3 separate regions of the Homo sapiens genome follow, and all the other regions are linked to region 1. The links are contacts of gene promoters, found by promoter capture Hi-C in human tissues and cell types (Jung and others, 2019). All regions are on one chromosome and are shown on one strand. The core of a region is centred on a gene start or on the middle of the fragment in contact, and the rest is flanking DNA. Distances in the headings are between cores, read along the strand shown. Region 1 holds the start of KCNS2 (potassium voltage-gated channel modifier subfamily S member 2). Region 2 has its middle 22 kb from the start of MIR9903. Region 3 overlaps STK3 (serine/threonine kinase 3).

Evidence for each region. Contacts are between HindIII fragments. The study calls those that stand out against the background at their distance.
Region 2: a contact is called between a fragment that was not itself captured here and the fragment with the promoter of KCNS2 in region 1, in 2 of the 25 tissues and cell types used here (H1 embryonic stem cells and stomach).
Region 3: a contact is called between a fragment that was not itself captured here and the fragment with the promoter of KCNS2 in region 1, in 1 of the 25 tissues and cell types used here (H1 embryonic stem cells).

The regions. Positions count from the first base shown.
Region 1 is chr8:98,425,323-98,428,927 of GRCh38, reverse strand. It overlaps KCNS2 (potassium voltage-gated channel modifier subfamily S member 2), which reads right to left and starts at 1,970. Exons shown (of 2, transcript NM_020697.4): 1 at 1,599-1,970; 2 at 1-990. The coding sequence starts at 948. It also overlaps a transcript of STK3 not described here. RefSeq lists a silencer at 1,871-2,070. The HindIII fragment of the contact is 18,533 bases long and covers 1-3,605 here.
Region 2 is chr8:98,370,170-98,373,774 of GRCh38, reverse strand. It overlaps a transcript of STK3 not described here. Among named protein-coding and RNA genes, the nearest start is that of MIR9903, 22 kb to the left of the region's middle. The HindIII fragment of the contact is 4,822 bases long and covers 1-3,605 here.
Region 3 is chr8:98,467,815-98,471,419 of GRCh38, reverse strand. All of the region lies in intron 10 of STK3 (serine/threonine kinase 3), which reads left to right. Among named protein-coding and RNA genes, the nearest start is that of KCNS2, 43 kb to the right of the region's middle. The HindIII fragment of the contact is 7,225 bases long and covers 1-3,605 here.

The DNA.
Region 1 (3,605 bases), core at 721-3,220:
GCGGAGGCCAGTGGAGTGCCTGGCCAGCTTTAAGATGCGGAAGATCCGCATCAGCCTCAGGACCTGGGCCACCCTGCCCAAGTTGGCTAAAGTAGGTGTGCTCTCCACCACCAGGTTCACCACCAGAGTGATGTAAAAGGGGACGATGGACATGAGGTCAATAAGGTTTAGGGCATTCTTGAAGAACTTGAGGAAGTCAGGGGCCACAGCAAACCTGGCCACCAGCTCAAATGTGAACCAGGCAATGCCAAAGTGCTCCACGATTTCGAACCTAGGGTCCTCGCCAGGGTTGCCCTGGCTGTCAGGGATTTGGAAATCGGGCAGGCTATTGAGGCACATGGTGATGATGGACCCCATCACCACCAGGATGGACAGGATGCTGAAGACCCTGCTCAGCACTGAGTAGCCGGGGTTGTCCAGCGCCAGCCACAGCTGCCTGCGGAAGTTGCCGAGGGGCTGCCCATCGAACTTGGAGGCGTCGTTGTAGAAGGCAAGGATCTCATCGAAGGAAGACGTGGTGCTCTCCTGGTCACTCTGCTCGTCCCACTTCTCCTGCTCGGGCTCTACTTTGCGGCCATGGTAGCTGTAGCTGCAGCAGGAGTCAATGAAGAACTCGTTGATGCCCCAGTACTCGATCTCCTGGCTGAAGGAGAAGACACATAGCTCAGCCATGACGTGAAGCTTGCCGGTGTGATAGAAATGCAGCACGTAGGGGAAGAGCTCAGGGTTGCGGTCGAAGTAGAACTCCCGCTGGACGTCGTCGTAGTCATCGCAGAGCTCCAGAATGGCCTCGCGCGAGTGGCAGAGCAGCAAGCGGCCCAGGCGCGTCTCGGGGAAGCGCAGCAGCGTGTGCGAGCGCAGCCTCCTCTTGAAGCCGCCCACATTGATGCGGATCTCCCCGTCCTCGACGTTAGCCTCCGACACGTCCCACAGGCTCTGGCCGGTCATGCTGGAGGCGCCGGCCGCCCGCGCCGCGCGGGGGCGCTACACCTGGAAGCGGAGGGAACAGCGTCGGCGAGAGCGCCGTGCGCCCTGGCGGGGCCCCCTCTCCCTACCCATTACTGGCGGGCCCAGGCCTCCTGGTGGGTCTTGGGTGCTGAAGGGCTGGGCTGGGGCAAGAGTTTGAGGGGTCTGATCCCCTCCCAGGAAAGGCTGGGGGTGGGTATGTTTCTATTAGCACAGCTCCACCCCAGGGGTCTCGGTGGGCGCTTTGCGCGTGCGGGGTCGCGTCCCCGCGGCTCTGAGCGCCCAGGGGGCTGCATGCTGACCTTGTCCATGGGCAGGCCCGGGAGACGCCCCCGCCCGCTCGCCGCAGACAGGCGGGACCGGAGCTGAGATACGCACGGGCAGGGCCGGGCCGACACGGGGGGCGCGTAGCTTTGGTGGGGTGGGGGGGATGCGCTGGAGTCTGGAAACCCGGGCCGCGGGAATGAGGGGGGCGGCCCGGCCTCCCCTGGGTCCAGATCCCACGCCTGCAGCCCCCGCGTCCCCGGCCCAGGTCTCCCTGCCGGCCTGGCGCTATGCCCCGGGGCCGCGTGCGCTGCGCCTCACCCAGCGGGGCTGCCCGGGCTCGCCCTGCGCGTTCTGGAAGCGCTTACCTGGGAGCACGGGTGCCCGCGGCCGAGGCCGGCGGGAAACTTCCCCAACCCGCGGGCGAGCATCGCGGCGGTGGCCGCTGCCTGCTGGCGGTGCGTGCGCGGGTGCGAGTGTGTGCGCCCGGCGGGCCGGCGGGCGGGGGCCGCCGAGCGTCTCCTCCCGTCTCGGGCCGGGTACGCCGCCGCCGCCCGCAGCTGCCGAAGGCTCACAGGTGGCTGCGTGGTCCCGCCGCTCCCGGAGCCCCCTCTCCGGATCCGCGCGCCCCTCACCCACCCAGAGAGGCAGGAACCCGCGCCGCATTCGCCCCGTGAGCCGGGGCGGGAGCAGAGCGGGTGTGACGGGGCGCCCGCCCTGCGCGGGGCGCGGCGCGGTGGTGCTGAACGGACAGCTCCGCGTGCCTCGGCCGCCGCCCGGGCTCGGAAGGCGCAGCCGCCGCCGCCGCTGCTTCTCTGCGCTTCCCCGGCGCGTCACCGCGACCACCTTGCGCCCCCGGCTCGGCGCGGGGCCGACACCTCTCCCTTCCCCCCGACCATCCCCCGGTGACAGCTGTTATTATCACCACCCCCAGGGCGCAGGCAGGGGGCTGCCTACGGTGACCTTTCCCCGCTGGGTCTGGCGGGAGCTGGGCTGGGAAATAAAGGGCGGCTTGCGCGTGTCCGGGGACAGGGCGGGACCGGAGGAACTCCAGGTGTCCCCTTTTAGGGACCTGAAGAAAAGTTTCCCGAAGCCCGGGGGTGGGGTTGTTGGGGAACAGGAGCTGGAGGGGAAAAGAGGGGGCCGGGAAGTCCAAGGTGGAGATCGGCTTAGTACGCGGGGGGCGGGAGCGCAGGCCGCACGGCGGGGGCGGGAGTCGCTGAGTTCTGGTCGGGAGCTCTGTGTGGGCACAGTTTGTGTCCAGGCCGGTGTGGTGTGCTGGCTGTGCGGGACTGCAGGGCGCTGTGTGTGTATGTAGGCTGAGGACAGCAGGACTTTTCAGTGTCTGTGTGTACCGCGTTCATTAAAATGGGTCCTCTGTCGGATGGGAAGATGCGTCGGCACAGGGGGGACCTGGGACGTGTGTCAGCGCAGTGTGTGGCATGGGGAACCGTGTGCTGTGTGTACATGTGCTGTGTACAGTGTAGTACTCTTGGGACTGTGACGGGCTCATGTGTGTGGAATATGTTGAGAGCGGTGTGCTTGCCGACAGTGGGGACTGGGGGGTTCAAGCTGGAGTGGGGACTGGTAGATGTGCTCAGGATCTGTGTCCCTATTCCTAAGAAGACTCGTGGCCCAGATCTGAGCTCTTGGTCTGCTGGGATTGTCCTTAAGGCCCTGCCTACTGGGCTGAGCTGAGAAATGGACCCAGTCCCTGGGGAGCCCCCTCCCTTTGGTGTTTCTCTGTGGTGTCCACTTGCAAAGACTGGAGCACCGTGGTTGTGTGAGCTTAGCAGGGAGCTAGCGTCTACATGTCTCGGTCAGAAGTCCTGGGAATGCCCTTGCAGGGTGGCTCTGGATTCATGGTGCAACCACCACTGCCACAGTGGGAAGTACATTCTTTCTTTACGCAATCCTGGCAATGCCGTCCCAGCTGAAAAGGTGCTCTGTGTAGCTCTGGAGGGCTTGGGGCCTCCTTGGAGGACCTGTAGAGGACCGTTAATCTGGCTTCGAATGGGGGCTCCTGCATCCAAGTCTGACCCATCCCTGTGACCCACTGGCTTCTGGACATGTGTGTGGGTGTGAATGCAGGTGTGTTTCCTGCTGAGAGGGCTTCACACCCATGCCCCTGCAGGCCTCTGCAAATGTGGTGGATTCCACAGAGGCAGCCACATGGGAGAGGGATAGTAGGGTAGTGAGGGCCACACACACTTCCTCTTTCTTGTGTATGACCTTTCCCCAGGCTTTGGGAAACTTTTCTTCAGGTCCCTAAAAGAGGAATCCAGTCCTCCATTCTGCCCTACCCTCAAACACACACAAGCCACCCTTTATTTCCCAGTGTGTTTGTGTGTGTGTGTGTGTGTGTGTGTCTGAGA
Region 2 (3,605 bases), core at 309-2,808, 55 kb after region 1:
ACAGGATAAGTTATATAAGACATTCACAAAAAAAAGGAAAGAAAAGAAGCAGATATTACCTTTTGTGTCTTTGGGCAGAAGGAATTTCTACCACCTTCCTCCAGCGGTGAGGCAGCATGGTGAAGCGACATGGTCAGGCAAGCTGACTGCCTGGGTTCAGTCCTGGGTCCATTACAGTGTGACTTGGGGCAAGTTAATTATCTCTCTAGGCCTCAGTTTTTAATCTAAAAACTGGCATGAAAATAGTACCTGCCTTACACAGTTGTGATGATCCAGTAAGAACATTTAGCTCAATGCCCAGCACACACATGTTCAATAGACATTATCAGGAATGTAAGAGAATAAGCCAGACCATAAGTAAATGTCATGACTGATGACATTTCATTGGCCAAACCAAGTCATGTAGAAAGCACACTCTGCCCACGGTGGGAGGAAATGCACTTTACATGGAAAAGAATGTGGATCTAGAATCCTGTTACAGGAGGGTAGAGATTGGGGAAAAGATCCAATCATCTGGCTCGGACACAGAAGGAGATGTTAAGGGCACTGATATGGCTCAAAAACAGAAACTCATAAACAGCAATCACAAAAAAAGCAAGAATAATAACTGCCATTTATGGAGCACCAACTCTGGTGGGAGGGGCTGTTCTCAAATAATCACAATATAGGCTGGGCAGACCCAACGAATTTCCTTCCCCTCATCTGACTCTCTCTGTCTTTCCCCTCCTACAGTGCTTTAATTCATGGTGAAATTCCATTTCAGGGAAGTTAATTATAAAGAAGAAATAATAGCAACCATTATAACCAGAGTAAGACTGATAATATTTATCAGTTACTTCATGCACATTATCTCATTCAATTCTCATCATAACCTCAGGGCATGGTGTTATTTTTCTCACATTGTAAATGAGGACACCAGGCTTAGAGACCAAGCGCTTTCCCAAAGCCACGCAGCTGGAAGGGAGCAGCGCTAGACTGTGAATTGTTAGAGTTCACAACCCATGCTCTTCTCATTATCCTGCTCTGCCTCCTCCTGGTGCACAGCACAAAGTCTCCAGAGCCTCTGTTCCCCAGACTGAAGCGGAGCCAATGTTCTGGACCCTCTGCCTACAATGTGGAAGTGGATAAATAGTAGCGAGGATGTTGGTGCTTATGTTAACAGAAAGCTGTTTGTATTATCTCTCACGTCAGTGAAGGATGTTCAGAGCCAAGAGTTAAGGGGAAAAAAAAAAACAAAAAACCACTGGGTGTTCAGGTAGAAAAGCCTAGGAAAAATAACAACAAAAAACCCCACTGGGCAGAGCTGGGTTTGGAGCTGAAGTCTGCGTCGTCTCACAGGAGTGGGTGGAGGGGCCGGGGAGCTGTGGCGTCCTGGCTGTTGGAGTCTGCGGGCCTCCCCAGCTGATGGCTGAGGCATAAGGCTCTGGAACTTGGAGGCTGCCCTGAAGAGCCCTCTGCATTAGTTTCCCAGGGTTCCTTAACAAAGTACTGCAAACTGAGTGGCTTAAAGCAACAGAAATGGATTCTCCCACAGTTCTGGAGGCTAAAAGTCTGAAATGAAGGTGTCAGCAAGCCATGTTCCCTCTAAGACCCAGAGTCTGAGACTCTTTCCTTGCCTTTGCCTAGCTTCTGATGGCAGCTGGCAATCCTTCATATTCCATGCCTTGCAACTGCATTACTCCAACCTCTGCCTCTGTCTTCACATGGTGTTCTCCCTGTGTGGGTGTCTGTGTCCACATTTCCCTCATCTTAAAAGGGCACTAGTCATATTCGGTTTAAGGACCCCCCTCCCCCTGATCCCACTCAGTATGACTTTATCTTAACTTGATTAGATCTGCAAAGACCATATTTCCAAATAAGGTCACTTTCCACTGGTACTAGGGGTTCAGACTTCAACACGCAATTTGGGGAGAGACAATTCAAGCCATAACACCACCATGTCCTATGTCCTAGGACTTGGTATAGGGTAAAAGTACTGTCTCATGTGGCCCTAGAGCCCTCAATGCAACTGAGACGAAGGTTCCAGCAGTGGCCCTTAGACAAGTTAAAAAGCATAATCTTGAGGGGTCAGCCTCTAAAGTTCTGTTCTCCTGCAGGTGTGGGGACTATCCCTAGCTTTGTGACTGAAGACTTGCCAGGTCCTGGAAGCATCTGGGAAGTGTTTTGGTTGAGGAGAGTTGAATGTTTGAAGAAGAAAATATCAGAGTGACATTCCTGCTGCTGGCTCCCCTCTGATGTACCGCCCTTGTGCTTTCTCCTACTGCACTTGCGATCCAGCAGCCTACAAAGAACATGTGCTTTCGAATGAAAGCCCTGCTCCAGCACTCACTAGCTAGTTAACCTTAGGAGTATTATTTCAAAGCTCTTGGAGCCTCGGTTTTCCTCATCTGTTAAAATGGGACCATAAATACTTAACTCAGTGTTGTGAGAGTGAAATTATGTTATGTACAGGGAAGTACACATAGCAAGTATTTGATATGTGTTAATTTCTCTTTCTCGTCCTTACTGGATGGGATCAGAGGGATGGATAAACCAGTTACCACTTCACCAGTTCGGCAAATGTTTATTGAGCACCTACTACACAAGTGGCTTTAGGCTGGGCCCTGGGGATGCAATGAATAACAAGATCAAGTCTTGTCCTGCAGGCACAAACAACCATGTAACAATGTAGTAAGTTTTGTTTCTTTTCTGTCCTGGGTGCTCCTCTGGGACCTTCAACATCCTAGGAACATTTTGGGTCCAGTGGTCTGAGATCTTACCAGAGCTCCCAATCTCTTTCCTAAAATATAGTGTAAGTGTTAAGTGCCTACTCTAGGCAAAGTCTTTCACATATAATACCCCTACATTTTACAATATTTTGTATGGTCCTAGCATCTGCATTTTTCAGGTGAGGAAACTGAGACTCGGGTGTAAAGAAAACAACCAAAGATCATCCAGATGGGATTTAACCTGACTTGTTTGGATCCCAAGACCTCATCTCCTTGATACCATTTACAATTTCAAAACTGTGACTCTAAGTAGACAAGCTTACATTTTATCTGGCTCTGAACCTTATGCAAAGGGAAGCTGGTTCCAAGAACAAGAGAGGTAATGTCAGCATTCCTGGATGATGTGGGCCCCTGAGTCCAGCTCAGAAGGCTGGCACACATTTGTGCTGACACCCCACTGTGTCTTCTTGGTTTTAGTCCTACTCATCCTTGGGTTTATGTGCACTTGCTGAGTAGCCGGGAGATGATGGTCCTTACCTATGGAGCTACCACCCAGTCCTCTCTAGCATATTTCGGCTTTTCAGGCATAAGATGAGTCTGTTCTGATTAAGATGCCCAGTCATTTCATTATGCAAGACTCTGAAGCTTGGGATCAGTGTTAAAGCCAGTGTTCTCTAAGGATACACACACACACACACACACACACACACACACACACACACACTGCAGAGGTCAGGGGGTCTGTGGAGTTAGGATATATTTTTAACAGGCCTCTCTAGTTCCTAAAAGAATGAAAGTTCCTGGTCCACTGGCCTGAGAATGCTGAAGTCACTTCAGCCCCCACCCAACAAACATTAAAGACCTGGGAGGCCCAGGGTTCCCGGGGGCTACTGGTGT
Region 3 (3,605 bases), core at 786-3,285, 42 kb before region 1:
TATGATGGCTTTATCAAGACGTAACCCAATGGTAAGTCTATGCATTAAAAAAAAAAAAAAAAGAAAAGGAAAAAAACCAGGCCTCTTTTCTTAAAAGGCAGAAAAATCTGCAGTGTCAAATCTGGCCACCAGAGGGTACTGTATAGCCAGCGACTTAGCCCTCTCTTAGAGGTTGAAATCTTGCCCTTATGAGCGGGTTCAGTGGATGCCACTATTCATATCTGTAGAGCTCAGTGACTTCATGTTTCTCAGTTTCCGATACCATTGATCTGATAGTGGCCCAGCTTCCTAACTTTTCAGGAGCCAGTGATCGAGCTGTAAGCCACTCATCCTCTACAAACCTATAAACTCTCTGAGCCAGTCAAGCTGTAACTTCATTCACCCTTACCCTTTTCAGAAGCCACCTGCCTATTCAGAAGGCTTTGGTACATTGCAGTTGATTTAGGATCATTTAATTTTATTCTGTTGTACTGCTTCCACTTTTACCACTCTCCCTCAGGTGTTCTATCAGTTAATTTCTAAGTGGGATATAAAAGATTTTACGAAATTGTTACCAAATATTCAACACTTGGTCACCCTGCAAGATTAAAAACCCACACCTCTTAAGAGTCAGTAAACAGTGTCTTGTTTTTTATACTTAGAGCAGAGATTTACCAAGGGTTGGGGAAGCTTATGCTGTCACCCTAGCAAAATTGTCTAGGAAAAATGTCATCTTTAAAATTAGTTGATATAATTAAGGATGACACTCACTAAAGACCAATGAAAGACAGTTTCTGGTCATTGAAAAATTAAAAAATAGCTAGCAGAATCTGCAATTTCCTCAGTATTTAAGAGTTATCTCTCCCTTCTTTTGACAGCTTGGTCCAGCACAGCTGACTATTCTGACTATAGAAACAACTGTGAGAGTGAGGGTGGCCTACTTAAAAGGCCTTGTACTGAGTACGGGTGAGATGAGGCAGTGAACACCCCTGTGAAAAGAAAATGATTAAGACTATGACTGTCTCTCACAACTGGGGTAATTAGAAGAGATCTGTGGGTTGGCGGTGGCAGGGCTAGGGTGGACCTGACAGAGTCACAAGATCATGCACTGTGGTTAAGAGAACTGTAGCAGGAGGAGGTTCATTCAAATGGGCATTCCTAACTGAAAATAGGCTAGAAGAACTTAGGTAAATCATGGGTATCCAGAAATGGGCAGTGTTGTGTGGACCAGCTTGCAGTGTTTTTGGCAGTTTGAAGGTAATTTCTTTGCATGTGGTATTTTTCAAAATTAGTTGATCATTTCTGGTATTGCACCGCTACTCTGACTCTAATAATGGAAAGTTCACTCACGGTGTTCTTGTCTAAGAATGCTTTGGAGAATTCTAGGATCTGTTAGTACCAGGTACTAGCAGCTCAGCACTAGGTCTGCTGGGTCATTTATTTCAGATTGAGAGTTACATATATTGTATGTGAATATAAACCAGTTTCAGAATAATTATCCAGTGGATAAGCTCTTCCTTGAATAACAGTGTATGTCAGTCAGTTACTAATATTTTTTGGAAAGTTCCTCAAGAGCACATTGAATTCAGCAGCCACATAGCTGTGTTATTACTTTTTCCACAGGAGGTAAACCAACAATATGTCTTTCATATGGTCAATAATTAAAGATGCATTTTTCCTTTTATCCTTATTAAAATGGACTTTTTAAGACTGAACTGAAATTTCATCTTGTAAAATAAAAATGTGAAGATTTACTAGCAAAACTACTCCATATTAATGTATATTATTCAAACCAGAGCTGAAATTCTGATCCCCAAATTTCCACTCATGACCACAGTCTCCCGGCTTCCCAGTAGATGTAAAGTAAGATCAGCCATTCTTTGTGCTGTCCCCCAACCTCAGTTCTCTGCCTCTGCTTCCATGTCCACATTAGTAGTGAGGCCACTCAGAAGGCAGGTGTCTGGCTCAAGGGAGGATAAAACCAAAGCCTTGCTGCCTTTGCAAGAGGTGCAGCTTGGTCCAGCCCCAGCGCTGAAGACTTGCAGGAACATTTGGGAACACACTCATTTTGCAAGGTATTATTAGAGATAAAATTTTGATGCCATGTTCTCTATTAAATTAGTTGATACCGAAAAACAGTTTCTAAAAATCTAATTTGGCGCCATTCTCAGACCGCCCCCCCGCCCCCGCAAAGAAAAGCCTTTTTGGACCATTCGTGTATTATAATCATCTAAGTGTGAAAATTTTAGTTTGTAATCAATGTTTACTCAGCCTTTTGGAAGTAATGGTGGCATATTACTTTCTCATCTTTCTTTTCTTTCTTTTTTTTTTTAAAGATGGAGTCTCACTCTGTCACCAGGCTGAAGTGCAGTGGCACGATCCTAGCTCACTGCAACCCCCGCCTCCCAGGTTCAAGCGATTCTGCTGCCTCAGCCTCCCGAGTAGCTGGGACTACAGGCACCCGCCACCTCGCCCAGCTAATTTTTGTATTTTTAGTAGAGACAGGGTTTCACCATGTTGTCCAGGATGGTCTCGATCTCTTGACCTCGTGATCCGCCTGCCTCAGCCTCCCAAAGTGCTGGGATTACAGGCGTTAGCCACCATGCCCGGCTCTCATCTTTATTTTCTGTGATTTCTGCATATTAGTTGCGCAGTCTAAAATGCTGACATAACCCACAAACACTGTTGTCCTTTCCCCAATTCAGAAAGTTGAAGATTTGAAACATTTACATTTGAAAGTTGATTCTTCCCCCATGAGACACATCTAAGTTAATAACTAGCAGGACTTATGTTCATTTATTCTCATTCTCTACCTTCTTTTACCTTAAATTCATAGCATTTGTGAGCATATTTTAAAACAAATATTAATGAAAAAACAATAGAATCTCAGTTTCATTCAGGCGACGATTTTGCTTTTAAGTTTGCACAAGACAGCTTATTTATTATTAAGGTAGACAAAATCAATTTTGCTTTTTAAACATTTTCATAAGAGCCTCCTATCCTTTTTTCTTGTGTCCTTACAAATATCTGAATCTCTTCATGGGTGTTTTAGTTTAATTTGTACATTTGTCTGTCAGTAGCTGGGAAAATTAAATATTGTTTCAGCCACAAACCATGCCATTCTAAAATTGAGAATGCTAAAATGTTTCCTTTTTGGTACATTTTATCTTCTAAGGCCCATGTGGCAAGTGAGAATGCAGAACTATGATCGAATTTATTTTTTCTTTTGAAGTGTTTTAGAAACATTTTGGCATATTTTGAGTTTTATTGTTTTAAAAATAGTTAACAGACCACGATTCTTATTCTGAACTGTTTTAAATGAACTGTGGATTTAGATGCTTCGAAACTAAAATATGAGACTCTTGTTTATTTCTAGATGTTGCTTCACTATTAAAAATTATCTATTACAATCTAAATTGCATGATTTGTGGGTTTTAGCTAACCTCTTTCATTTTAAAACTACTTTATAGATTTTCAAGAAACAAATATTTACATTTTTATGATATGAAGATAGTATAATTTAAATTGTTAGACTAAGTATTGTGATGTCAGTGAAGCAGAAAATTGTGACATTAGTAAGAATGATGCTCTTCCAGCACACTTCACTCCATGCATGTTTCCTCAAA